Regions from separate parts of the Homo sapiens genome. Here regions 1 and 3 are each linked to region 2. Evidence: promoter capture Hi-C in 16 types of primary human blood cells and fetal thymus (Javierre and others, 2016). All regions are on one chromosome and are shown on one strand. Each heading gives the region's core, a stretch centred on a gene start or on the middle of the fragment in contact. The rest is flanking DNA. Distances are from core to core; before and after follow the strand shown. Region 1 holds the start of TNFRSF18 (TNF receptor superfamily member 18). Region 2 holds the start of VWA1 (von Willebrand factor A domain containing 1). Region 3 has its middle 8.5 kb from the start of SSU72-AS1.

Region 1 (3,815 bases), core at 749-3,248, 230 kb after region 2:
GAAGGCCCTGCCTGAACTCTGGCTCAGTGCCCATCTGCACCCTCCCCGTGGGGCCTCACAGCTGCCCTTCTGGACGTACGCAAGGGCTGTCCCTCGCCCGGCCCGTGGGCTGCTCTGCTGTGTGAATGCCCCGTCATTTGTGTCACCGGTGAGCTGCTCAATAAGATGAACAAGTCACCTCCAGCCTCGCAGCCCAAGGATAGGAGTCACGGGGAGCCGGGGAGGGGCCTTCTGCGGCGAGAGGGATGGGAGGGTGGACGTCACACCCCTGCAGCCCCTCCGGGGACCACCCTGTGTGGCAAGCTGCTCTCCGGCTGTTCAAAGTGTCAGCTGCGCCACGGGGCGGGGGGGAGGGGCTCCTCTGCCCGCTGGCCGCCTCCCACTTGGCCCCATAAACTGCTCGCTCCTCTAACTCTGTCCCTGCCTCTAGATGGATGACTCACACCGTGTGGTCTGATGAGCATTCTTTATTTTTTGTGATGGAGTCTCGCTCTGTCACCCAGGCTGGAGTGCAATGGTGCCATCTTGGTTCGCCGCAACCTCTGCCTCCCAGGTTCAAGCAATTCTCCTGCCTCAGCCTCCCGAGTAGCTGGGATTACAGGCGTGCGCCACCACGCCTGGCTAATTTTTTTTGTATTTTTAGTAGAGACGGGCTTTCTCCATGTGGGTCAGGCTGGTCTCGAACCCCTGACCTCAGGTGATCCGAGGCCCACCTCGGCCTCCCAAAATGCTGGGATTACGGGCGTGAGCCACTGATGGCGCCTCTTTCTATCCAGGGGCCCAGACCCCCTCCCAGCCTCGGGGCTGAAGATCTCCAGGCCTCTCAAAGGCCCCCAGGCCCAGCTGGCCCCACCCCTTTCCTTCCGAGCGTCGGGGCGGCCTGGAGCTGCAGAGACCCCTTCCTTCTCTGCAGTGTCTGAGGGCTGCCTCTCCAAGGCAGGCTCCTACATCTTGGATTTGAGAACTCCGGGGTGTCACAAACAGCTAATTCCTGTCATTTACCTTGGAAAAGGAGGAACCGCCTTACGGGGTGAGGCGGTGGCTGCAGGTCTCAAAAGGGTGTTGAACCACATCCACGCTCACGTTCCCGAGAGCCCCCACCCCCAGCATTCATGGGGGTCTCCACCTGTGCTGGACGGCGCAGAAGCAGGGCTGGGCAATCCAGGGAGGCTTCCTGGTGGAGGCAGGGTCCCAGAACCCCTCGGTGCCCACAGGGGAAACTGAGGCTCAGAAAGACATAGGACAGTCTCCCAAGAGCTCTGCGAGGGGCTCCTCCTCAACTCCCTCCGGGACCTGGATCTGTCTGGTGTGACGGATGAAGGTGGCTCTGAGAGACCGGGCCCTGGGTGCCCGCGGGGGCGGCTGACACTGTCCCGAGGAGGCGCCAGCACCCTCTCGTCTCCCCACCAGCTCCTCCTGGTGCCCCTCCCAAGCCCCGGGGAACTTCCCAGGTTGGCCTGAGGGGGGTCCTGGAGAGCTGCAAGCAAGGGGGAGGGGAGCCCACAGGCCTGCAGCCCATGGTGAGTTTCACACCTGAAGCCAGCCAGGTGGGGTGTGCTGAGCCGAGGGGTCCCTGTCCCCATTCTGTGGGGTTCCCCAGCACGGGGCTCCATGGTTGAGGCTCTCTGGGGGTGGCCAGAATTTGTGGAGACCTCTCGGGGACTCGCAGATACCACCCGGAGGCAGTGGGATGGAGGAGTGATTGGCTGACCCCCGCCCTCCAAGGGGCCCCCATGGGACAAGGTGCTATAAACGCCGCCCCCTGCACTGGGGACACCAATGTGGCCGCAGACTTTGCATAGAAAACCTTTCTGATCCCCGCCAGCCTGGTTTCCCCGCCCCTGCCGGCGACCTGCGGGGGACCGGGCTGTGTCCGCAGTGTCTACACCCCCTCCTCACACGCACTTCACCTGGGTCGGGATTCTCAGGTCATGAACGGTCCCAGCCACCTCCGGGCAGGGCGGGTGAGGACGGGGACGGGGCGTGTCCAACTGGCTGTGGGCTCTTGAAACCCGAGCATGGCACAGCACGGGGCGATGGGCGCGTTTCGGGCCCTGTGCGGCCTGGCGCTGCTGTGCGCGCTCAGCCTGGGTCAGCGCCCCACCGGGGGTCCCGGGTGCGGCCCTGGGCGCCTCCTGCTTGGGACGGGAACGGACGCGCGCTGCTGCCGGGTTCACACGACGCGCTGCTGCCGCGATTACCCGGGTAAGTAAACCGCGTTTACTTAACGCGGACCGGCCAAGGCGTCCCGCGGAAGCCGGGATGGGTGGGCGCCCCCCTTCCCGTGCTCAGACCGGCGTTGCTGAGGTCTAAGGAGGGTGGGCACAGAGCCGCCAGCAGCGGGAGCCTTCCGGAGGGAGGCAGGATCCCAGAGGGAGGCGGAGGTGTGCCAGCTCCAGCCAGTGGCCCCGGCCGGGAGCAGGGGTGAGCCAGGTGGGAGCGCCCTCAAGAGGGGTCTGGGGTCTGGAGGTGGAGGACGGCTGTTCCAGGTCCTGCTGGGCGGGTCGTGAGCCCTTGGCCATCGCCCAGCCCCCTCCTGCCCAGTTGAGGGCCCCCCTGCACCACCGTCTGGCCTGCTGCCTGCCTCTGACCTGCACCTGGGGATGAGGGTTCAGCTGACACGGCTGGTCTGGAGAGGAAGCTGGCAGGGAAGTCACCCCAGAGCTTCTTCCTCCAGGGCCTGTGGGTTGGGAAGGGAGGCTCTGTCCGGAGGCCCAGTGTGGCTGGTGGTGGGGACAGCAGCGCCCAGACACCAGGCAGGCGGCCTCTGAGGTGTCGACGGGCCTCCAGGGGACTGTGCACTGTTGGGGGCCACCCCTGGGTCCTGCAGGGGCAGCTCCTGGTTGCATATGGAGTTAGCACCTGGGCAGGGGCAGCTGTGGGGCGCAAAGGGGGAGTAGCCAGGCCACATGGCCCCAGGAGAAAGAGACAGCTGGATAAACCCAGGGTCCAGACTCCCAGCCAGGAGCCCTCTGCTCCCTGGAGCCAACTGTGGGTGGAGAACGGACAACCTCACTCCCCTGGAGGGCCGAGGGGAGGCCTGGGGAGGAGGGGGCCTCAGCCCAGCTGCTGGGGGGCTGGCCTGTCTCCTGCCCAGGCGAGGAGTGCTGTTCCGAGTGGGACTGCATGTGTGTCCAGCCTGAATTCCACTGCGGAGACCCTTGCTGCACGACCTGCCGGCACCACCCTTGTCCCCCAGGCCAGGGGGTACAGTCCCAGGGTAAGTCCTGGAGGTGCCTCTGGGAGTCCACACAGGCCAGGGGTTCCACTAGGGCCCGAGGCAGAGCTCGTGGGCACAGGTGTCCGGCGAGGACATGTGGTGTGTGGGGTCCGGAGTCCTGTGAGGCCGGGCAGGCCAGGCCATGCTCAGGCACCACAGGCCATGAAGCTCTGGGGGTGTCCTGTCCCTGCTTTCTCAGCCTGGGCTTCTCCATCCAGCACGAGGGCTGTGAGAACCCTGCGGGGAGGTGGGGGCGGGTTCCAGGAGCTGTCTGGCTCTCAGGCCCGGGACACCCATCCTGTCTGTCCTCACCACATACTGAAAGAGCCTGCCCTGTGCCCCCCGGAGTCCTGTCTGGGGCCTGGGGCTGCACCCTGTTCTGGAAGGAGCAGCTCAAGTCCTCTTAGCGGCTTGTTTACCTGACAGGAGAGGTCAGGCTGGGCACATGAGAGCTGGGAGAAGGTACAACTGGGGAGGTTGTGTCAGGTTGGACGGGGCAGGGTCTGGGGTCAACTGGGACCCAGCCTCACTCTCTCTGGGACCCTCACTGTTCTCCACCCTCTGTTCTACTGGGTCCTGCCTGGCTTCTGCCCAC
Region 2 (4,089 bases), core at 401-2,900:
GCCCAGGTCCTTGAGCTCCTGCATGGGGGGGCCCACAGGGTCGCTGGAGCCGCCATCTGTCACCCACACCAGCACTTTGGGCACCCCTGGCCGGGCACCTGATGCTTCAGCAAACAGCTGTTCCTTGGCATAGACCAGCGCCAGGCCAGTGTGGGTGTCACCCATGCGCTGGGCAGAAGCACGCACCGCATCCTGGGCAGCCTCACCCGAGCTGTGCTGGCCGAAGGGGAACTCGGTGTATGGCCGACTGCCCACGTGCACCAGACTGGCACGCAGGGCCCCGGTGCCCAGGGGCAGTGGAGCCACCAGCTGCCCCACAAACTCCCGAACCCGGGAGAACTCGTAGTGAGAGACGCTGGCTGAGCTGTCCAGCAGGAACATCAGGTCCCCTCGGGGGGCTGATGCTGGTGGACCTGGGGGAAAGGAGGAATGCTCAGCCTCAGGTGTGGGCCCCCCAGACAGCCCCACAGCAAGGCAGGGTCCCCCAGGGCCCCAGCTTTCCTTAAGTGGATGCTTGCCTTCTCCCAAAGGTCCTAGGTTGGGGGAAAGAGGAACTCTAAGCAAGAGGCCTGTACTTTTGGGGGTTTCACTGCACACTGGCCATGGGATCTAGGGCTCTCTCTGGGCTTGTGTTATCCCATCTGTGAGAGGGCGACTCTCCGCTCCAAGCCCCCACACCTTCCCATTCCTCACAGACCCTGCAAGCAGGTGGAGCCAAGAGTCCTGGCCTAGGCCCCCAGGACAGGCCTGAGCCGTGGGGCTGTTCCCTCCAGGCATGGCTTTCAGAGGAGCAGCCTGAGGCTGGAGTTCAGCCACGCAGCTCAGCCTGCAGGTGAGGCACCCTGGGCATGCACACAGCAGCAGGGGAAGGTGTCGGAGGCACAGCAATGACCACGCCGGATGGCCTGGCTGGAGCCCAGACCCCGCTTACTAGATGGTGGCCCCTCCCCTGGCCTCCATCCTCCAGCCCACCTGGACTCACACAACAAGATATAACCCCCAGCAGCCTGAAAGCCGGAACAGCCCCTCGCAGGCTTCCCCCTTCCTCCGGGCACCTCCGGGGTGGAGGCTGATGCCCCCTACACCGCCCCTCCCCACCAAGCCAGGGCACCAGCGTGCCTCAATTCTAGTCCCGGCCTTGCGGTTTTCCCCAGTGCGGTGGGGCGACTCCAACTTCCCTACCATCCCTCCACTAAGGGCCCTCGCAAGGGTAGGGAAACTGAGGCAGGGGTGCCCCCTTGACAGACATCTCCCTCTTCCTGTCCAGGCCCGCGATCCCGCAGAGATGCGGGCCGGGACGGCCCCTATGCCCCGGCGCTCACGGACGGTGTCGCCTGGAGCACCTGGGCCGCCAGCCTCAGGTGAGCAGGACGCTCCGCCCGCGCCCCCGCCCGGCTCCCGCAGCCTCCCAGCCCGCCCGCCCGTCCGGAGCAGGGGACAGCGACGGCCTTGCGCGGGCAGCGGCGCAGAGCGGTCACCAGAAGCCCCAGCCCCGGCCCGGCCGCCCGCCGCACTCACCGCGCTCCGCGCCGCTCCGCGCCAGCGCCAGCCGCAAGCTCAGGGCCAGGCCGAGCGCCGTCCAGGGGAGCATCGCGCGCGAGGGACGGGGCGCGCTCGGCAACTCGCTCGCTCGCTCGCTCGCTCGGGGCTGCAGGGCGCGTCACCGCGCGGACCAGGCCGGCCCCGCCCCCGGGAGGCCCCTCCCCGAGCGGCCACACCCACGCCGAGGCCACGCCCACGCCCTCCGGCGCGAGCGGAGGGCCACGCGCACAGACCCCGGAGAGGCGCGCACGAGCGGACCCCGACACGCAGGGACACGCAGCACCAGCCGAGATACGACCGAGGCACGCACGCGCAGGCACGCACACACACACACTCCAGTCTCCCTCTCCCGGCCGAGGCTGTGCGGCCCACGCTCTCCACCCCTCTCCGACCCCCAGCCGCGGGAGCCGAGCAGGGAGGTACCAGGCTAGGCCCTCCCCATGCCCACCACTGCCGTGACTCTGGGTGCTGGGGTCCCAGCAGCCAGGCCCAAGAGAACCCCAGGGGCTGGCGGTGGCACCAAAAAAACACGTCCAGACCGTGGTTTCGCCTTGGCCTCCGCGCTGGAGGCGGATAGGTGTCTGGAGTAACAGGACATGTATCCCAGGGACTGACCAGCAGGGATGGGAAGGACCATGGGGTGGAACTTACAAGGACACAGTGGCTTGAAAGGGGACAGAAGACAGGAATTCGAGAGAGACTCGAAGCACCCACGCCACCTGGGCTTCTTGGAGGAAGAGGCATGGGAGTGGGAGATGGTTGGTTGAGGCCCTGTCCAGTGGGACCACACTGGGCCTGTTACCCATATACCCTACCCAGTGAGGGGCCCAGACTCCAGGACCCAGGACACACCCCCAGCAGGACTGGAGGGTCCCACTGGTGAGACAGGAGCTCTTGAGTCTTGGGGTCTTGGTGAGGCCCAGACGAGAGGTGGCTGGTTGCAGGGGGCGTCCTGAGGGACAGTGGCTCCCAGGGCAGATTTCCCCTGCTTGGGTGGGGCTGGGCCAGCAGTGTCCCCTGGACAGGAGAACCCTACCCCGGCCCTCCCTCGGAGTAGCCATGGCCCTCTTCCAGGGCCTCCTCAGCTCAGAGCTGGGAGGTGGGGGACGTGGGGGGGTGTCTGCCAGGATGTCTCCTCCTTCCCCACCCTCTCCTGGAGGATGCGCCGCGGGAGAACGGATGGGGCTCCACAGGCTTCCTTCCTCCCTTTCAGGCAGGTGAGACACCGCGGGGCCGTGCGGACGGCCAGCACTCGACTTTGCCTAAAAAAGGAAGCAGCAGGCTGAGGCTGAGGAGCTGGCGGCAGGAACAAGGGAGAGCTGTGTCCCCGCCGGCGCCCCCCACCCCCCCTGCCGGGGATCTTGGCAGTGGAGGTGCTGGCTGCGCTCCACAGACCTCAGACCTCGGCTGGGACCAGAAATGCCTGGTGCTTCCGCCTGGGCCCGGTGGGGGGACTTTGGGTCCCCAGAGTGCAAGCTGTACCACTTCGAGGGGCCTCGCCAGGCCCCCCAGCCCCCAGTACACAGGGGCTGCCGTGGAGATGACGCTGAAGGCCGCAGCCGCTGGAGGACCTGGGGTCTGACCGGAAGCTGGCTGCAGACCCTGCGGAGGCACGTCCAGGTAGTCAGGCAGGGAGCTGGGCCGAGGGTCCCCCACCCTGGGGAGGCTCACAGCCAGTGGCCCGCTTGTCCCCCACCCTCGCCCAGCAGGCGGGCCACAGTCACACCTCAGCCAGCCTTGCAGGGCTGACGGGGAAGTTTCCCTCACTTCTGGAAAAAGTGAGCGGGTCTTCTTGGCTGTGACTCAGGCCCTCAAGGAAGCGGCCGCCCTCCTCCCTTCAGCTCGCCATCAGCGGGAGAAGGCACAGGAGGCCTGGCCTCCACCCAGCCTGGGCCGAGCTCAGCCACCTGCCTTGCTCCCGGCTCTGCCTGGAGTCCCTCCAGCTAGGAGACCCTCCCCATCAGCTCTCCCCGTGCCCCTCAGTCTTCAGGACTCATTCTTGTGTCCTGCCCTCCCCCCGCTGTCTCCACCCCGGAGGAGGGACGTGGACAGAGGGTCCCAGAGAGCATGGGGTCAGCCAGAGGTGCAGTGTCAGGGCCCGGGCCGGACTTGAGGCAGACACCGGAGGAAGCACAAATATAACAGCCGGAACCCTCCACTCTCCAGGGAGAAGGGCCCGGGGTAAGAGGCAGAGGCAAGGACGGGTCAGGCCAGATCACAGTGGGTGCTGGCCCCGAGCCCTCTGCCTCCTGCAGGCACAGCCCCTGTCTGATCCTGGTGGCCTGGGGCCCCATGGGGTGGGGAGCAGCCTGGTTTGGCTGCGGCCACCCCGCCCCCACGGTCTGGGCCTGGGCTGTGGGAGTCCCTGTGCCTCACTTCCCGGAGCCAGCCTGCCCTGCCGGTCTGTCTGCAGGCAGGTGGAGAGAGTTCCAGGAAGCTGGGGAGGCTGCTGTCACCCGGGCACCGCCCCTGCCCCCACCCGCCTTTGGGAATGCTCCCTCCTCCGCACAATCCAGGCTTCTGCAGAAGATGAAGGGCCTTTTGTCC
Region 3 (4,194 bases), core at 15-2,514, 150 kb before region 2:
CGTGAACCTGGGAGGCAGAGCTTGCAGTGAGCTGAGATTGCGCCATTGCACTCCAGCCTGGGCGACACAGCGAGACTCCATCTCAAAAAAAAAATTAGCCAGGCGTGGTGGCGGGCACTTGTAGTCCCAGCTACTTGGGAGGCTGAGGCAGAAGAATGGCATGAACCCGGGAGGTGAAGCTTGCAGTGAGCCGAGATTGCACCACTGCACTCCAGCCTGGGCAATAGAGCAAGACTCCGTCTCAAAACAAACAAACAAACAAATAAACAAACAAAAAAAGTTAGCTGGACATGGTGGCATGCACCTGTAATCCCAGCTAGTCTAGAGGCTGAGGCAGGAGAATCGCTTGAACTCACAAGGCAGAGGTTGCAGTGAGCCAAGATTGCACCGCTGCACTCCAGCCTGGACTGCAGAGTGAGATTCTGTTTCAAAAGAAAACAAAACAACAACGAAAGTTACTGGGTCTGTCGCCACCATCTGAAACAGTGGTCCATGTGCTTGACAATTCCTGATAGGATCTATGGAAGCTTCTTTGCTCTTCAGAAAATAAGAAGAAATGAAATGGGATTCTCAAACATTAAGTCACAGCAGATTTTTTGGTTCTCCAGCAGGCTATATTATGGCCCAACTTGGGCAAACTGTACTTATTTATCTTTCTTTTTAATTTTTCTCAGCTTCTGTTCTGCTCTAACTCAGGCACATTTTAAAACTGATGGGTGGCCAGGCACGGTGGCTCACGCCTGTAATCCCAACACTTTGGGAGGCTAAAGTGGGAGGATCACGAGGTCAGGAGTTCGAGACCAGCCTGGCCAACATGGTGAAACCCCGTCTCTACTAAAAATACAAAAAATTAGCCAGGCGTGGTGGCACACGCCTGTAATTGCAACTACTCAGGAGGCTGAGGCAAGAAAATTGCTTGAACCCGGGACGCAGAGGTTGCACTGAGCCAAGATCATGCCACTGCACTCCAGCCTGGTCGACACAGCAAGGCGCTGTCTCAAAAACAAAAACAAAAACAAAAAAACCCCAAAACTGGCCGGGCACGGTGGCTCACGCCTGTAATCCTGGCACTTTGGGAGGCTGAGGTGGGTGGATCACAAGGTCAGGAGACTGAGACCATCCTGGCTAATCGGTGAAATCCCGTCTCTACTAAAAATACAAAAAATTAGCCGGGTGTGGTGGTGGGTGCCTGTAGTCCCAGTTACTCGGGAGGCTGAGGCAGGAGAATGGTGTGAACCTGGGAGATGGAGCTTGCAGTAAGCTGAGATTGCGCCACTGCACTCCAGCCTGGGCCACAGCGAGACTCCGTCTCAAAAAAAAAAAAAAAAAATTAATTGGCGGGCGCGGTGGCTCACGCCTGTAATCCCAGCACTTTGGGAGGCCGAGGCGGGCGGATCATCTGAGGTCTGGAGTCTGAGACCAGCCTGACCAACATGGAGAAACCCCATCTCTACTAAAAATACAAAATTAATGGCGCATGCCTGTAATCCCAGCTACTCGGGAGGCTGAAGCAGAAGAATTGCTTGAACCCGGGAGACAGAGGTTGTGGTGAGCTGAGATCATGCCATTGCACTCCAGCCTGGGCAACAAGAGCAAAACTCCATCTCAAAAAAAAAAAAAAAATTTTTATGCTTTGGGGCAGTGGCAGTGGTAACGGGGCTGTGTGCAGGAGGAGCATCGATCGGGCAGGGTGGATGTGGGCTGGGGCAGCCCCGGGTCCCAGGCCCTGCAACGGTGTGCAGGGCGGGAGTGCCCAGTCGGGCTGCATTCCCAGGTGCACGGCGTGCCACTGAGCTGCTCACGTAGCTGCCACCATCTGTGCTGGGCCCAGCCGAGACGCAGAACCTCGTGGACATGACCTAGGAAGACCCAGACAGTGTGCCCCACGGATGTCCTGGATCAAAGGGACCCAGGTTGGTGATTACTTCTACTCCTTTGGCGGCTGTTATTGGCACGCAGCCTACCGGTAGCTGCAGCAAGGGCCATCCTGGACAAGCTTGTGCAGTCCACCCTCTCGGACCTCAGGGTGTACCTGGGGGCATCCACGCCAGACTTGTAGGAGCAGTCCCCATGGCACCGACTGACACTTCTAAGAGCCCAGAAGATACATCTGGCCCCCGTAGGCTGGGCTGGCAGAAGGGATAGCTGAGATGCGTTCTCTTTGCACTTGGTGGGGAGGGTCTGACTCGAGACACTTCCCCAACAGTAGGGAATAAAATTGTCATGGTTGAATAGACCGATTGTGGATTGTGTTCCATCTACTGAGACTGGCACACTGCCTCCTGAAATGAAAGTGGATCTCATCACCAGAGGAGAAATGAGGAACTGCGTATCAGCTAGCCTTCACTGTGTAACAGACCATCCCAAAATTTGGCAGCAAAAACAGGTCACGTATTTGTCCACAATTCTGTGGGTTGGCAATCTGCACTGGGCTCACCTGCGGACCCTCATGGAGCTGTGGTCATTTGTCACATCCGCTACACCTGGATGGTCTAGGACAGCCTGACTCACTTGTCTGGCAGGTGACAGGTTGTTGGTTGGGGTGGCCTGTCTAGCAGGCTGCTTCAGCCTTAGGGCTCCAGGAGAGTGAGAGTAGAAGCTGCAAGATTTCTTGGGTTCTGGGCCTGGAACTGGGGCTGGGACAACGTCAGTTCTACTAAGTTCTTTTGATCAGAGCAAATCACAAGGCTTTGCCCGGATTCAAGGGATGAGAAAGAGACCGTATGTCTTGATGAGAGGAACCACAAAGAATGTGTGGCCATTTTTCACCTAATGCAAATAACTTTGGGTGGGGAAATAACAATATTTATCTCTCTCAGGGGACCTCACTCTGCCTAGTCTGAAGGCAAAAAGACACTGTCCTGGCCGTCAGGGTCTTGGGGAAGAGGTGTTGAGGCAGGGTGAGGCCTCTTCAAGGCTGGATCCACTATAATAGGGGCACCATGTTTTCTGCACTGGTGGGATGGGGTTTTACTGGGTGGGATGTTCCAGAGGGGCTTCTGAAAGCCAAGAGTCCTGGGGGAAAGGGAGAGGTGGAGAAACATGTGAATACATAACCCCAAATCATTTGAAATGGGAAAAATGGTAAAATGAGGTTTTTTAAAATAATAAACCTCCTATACAAACTGCGATCCCCCAAATTTTGGTCTGTATCCTTCATTAGATCACCTATTTGGGCAAATAAAGTTTAGCCATGTGAACATGTCCCATTTTGTCAGAAATACTATCATATAATTGGGATCCAATTGTCTGTTTTTTGTTGTTGTTGTTTTGAGATGAAGTCCCGCTCTGTCACCCAGGCTGGAGTACAGTGGCGCGATCTTGGCTCACTGCAACCTCCGACTCCCAGGTTCAAGTGATTTTCAGCCTCCTGAGTAGCTGGGATCACAGGCATGTGCCACCACTACACCCGGCTAATTTTTGTGTTTTTAGTAGCCATAGGGTTTCACTGTGTTAGCCAGGATGGTCTCCTGATCGTGATCCGGTCGCCTCGGCCTCCCAAAGTGCTGGGATTATAGGTGTGAGCCACCACGCCCGGCCCCCAGGCTGTAAATCTTTAATAAATAAGCTGGTTTTAAATTTGCTGTAAAATAAAAATAGAAATGTCATAAAAATTGGCAGCATACATTTTTGCCTGGGTTTACTCATTAAGAGTCTCACCTGTCGCCCAGGCTGGAGTGCAGTGGCTTGATCTTAGCTTACTGCAACCTCTGTTTCCTGGGTTCAAGTGATTCTCCCACCTCAGCCTCCCAAGTGGCTGGGATTACAGATGCCCGCCTCCACGCCCAGCTAATTTTTGTATTTTTAGTAGAGACGGGGTTTTGCCATGTTGGCCAGGCTGGTCTTGAACTCCTGACTTTAGGTGATCTGCCTGCCTTGGCCTCCCAAAGTGCTGGGATTACAGGTGTGATCCACCATGACTGGTCTTAGAATGATCTCTTTTGTGTGTAATTATTTGATGAGTAAAACTAATTTGATATTGTTGGCTTAATGAAAAAGCTGTATCTTCTGAGTTATTTACAACATATAGGTGCATTTAAAATTCTTATTTAGGCTAGGCATGGTGGCTCACACCTGTAATCCCAACACCTTGGGAGGCTGAGGTGGGAGGATCACTTGAGCCCAGGAGTTCAAGATGAGCCCTGGAAACACAGCAAGACCTTGTCTCTAATGAAAATAAAAAACTAGCCAGGT

The links. The method cuts DNA at HindIII sites, captures the fragments that hold promoters and counts their contacts. A CHiCAGO score of 5 or more calls a contact.
Region 1: a contact is called between the fragment with the promoter of TNFRSF18 here and the fragment with the promoter of VWA1 in region 2, in 8 of 17 cell types (neutrophils, erythroblasts, naive CD4 T cells and 5 more). The highest score is 10.7, in neutrophils.
Region 3: a contact is called between a fragment that was not itself captured here and the fragment with the promoter of VWA1 in region 2, in 1 of 17 cell types (M1 macrophages). The highest score is 5.0, in M1 macrophages.

The regions. Positions count from the first base shown.
Region 1 is chr1:1,204,775-1,208,589 of GRCh38, reverse strand. It overlaps TNFRSF18 (TNF receptor superfamily member 18), which reads left to right and starts at 1,998. Exons shown (of 5, transcript NM_004195.3): 1 at 1,998-2,205; 2 at 3,098-3,220. The coding sequence starts at 2,019. RefSeq lists silencers at 253-342, 3,215-3,415 and an enhancer at 1-418. The HindIII fragment of the contact is 24,444 bases long and covers 1-3,815 here.
Region 2 is chr1:1,433,251-1,437,339 of GRCh38, reverse strand. VWA1 (von Willebrand factor A domain containing 1) reads right to left here and starts at 1,650. Exons shown (of 3, transcript NM_022834.5): 1 at 1,519-1,650; 2 at 1-413. The coding sequence starts at 1,591. LOC107985729 reads right to left here. Exons shown (of 4, transcript XM_017003066.2): 1 at 4,052-4,089; 2 at 3,269-3,377; 3 at 2,938-3,144; 4 at 1,791-2,804. The coding sequence ends at 2,190. LINC01770 (long intergenic non-protein coding RNA 1770) reads left to right here and starts at 2,767. Exons shown (of 2, transcript NR_125996.1): 1 at 2,767-3,152. RefSeq lists silencers at 1,533-1,722, 1,481-1,850, 2,597-2,891 and enhancers at 2,677-2,736, 1,996-2,739. The HindIII fragment of the contact is 8,860 bases long and covers 1-4,089 here.
Region 3 is chr1:1,581,372-1,585,565 of GRCh38, reverse strand. No RefSeq gene overlaps it. Among named protein-coding and RNA genes, the nearest start is that of SSU72-AS1, 8.5 kb to the right of the region's middle. The HindIII fragment of the contact is 1,469 bases long and covers 530-1,998 here.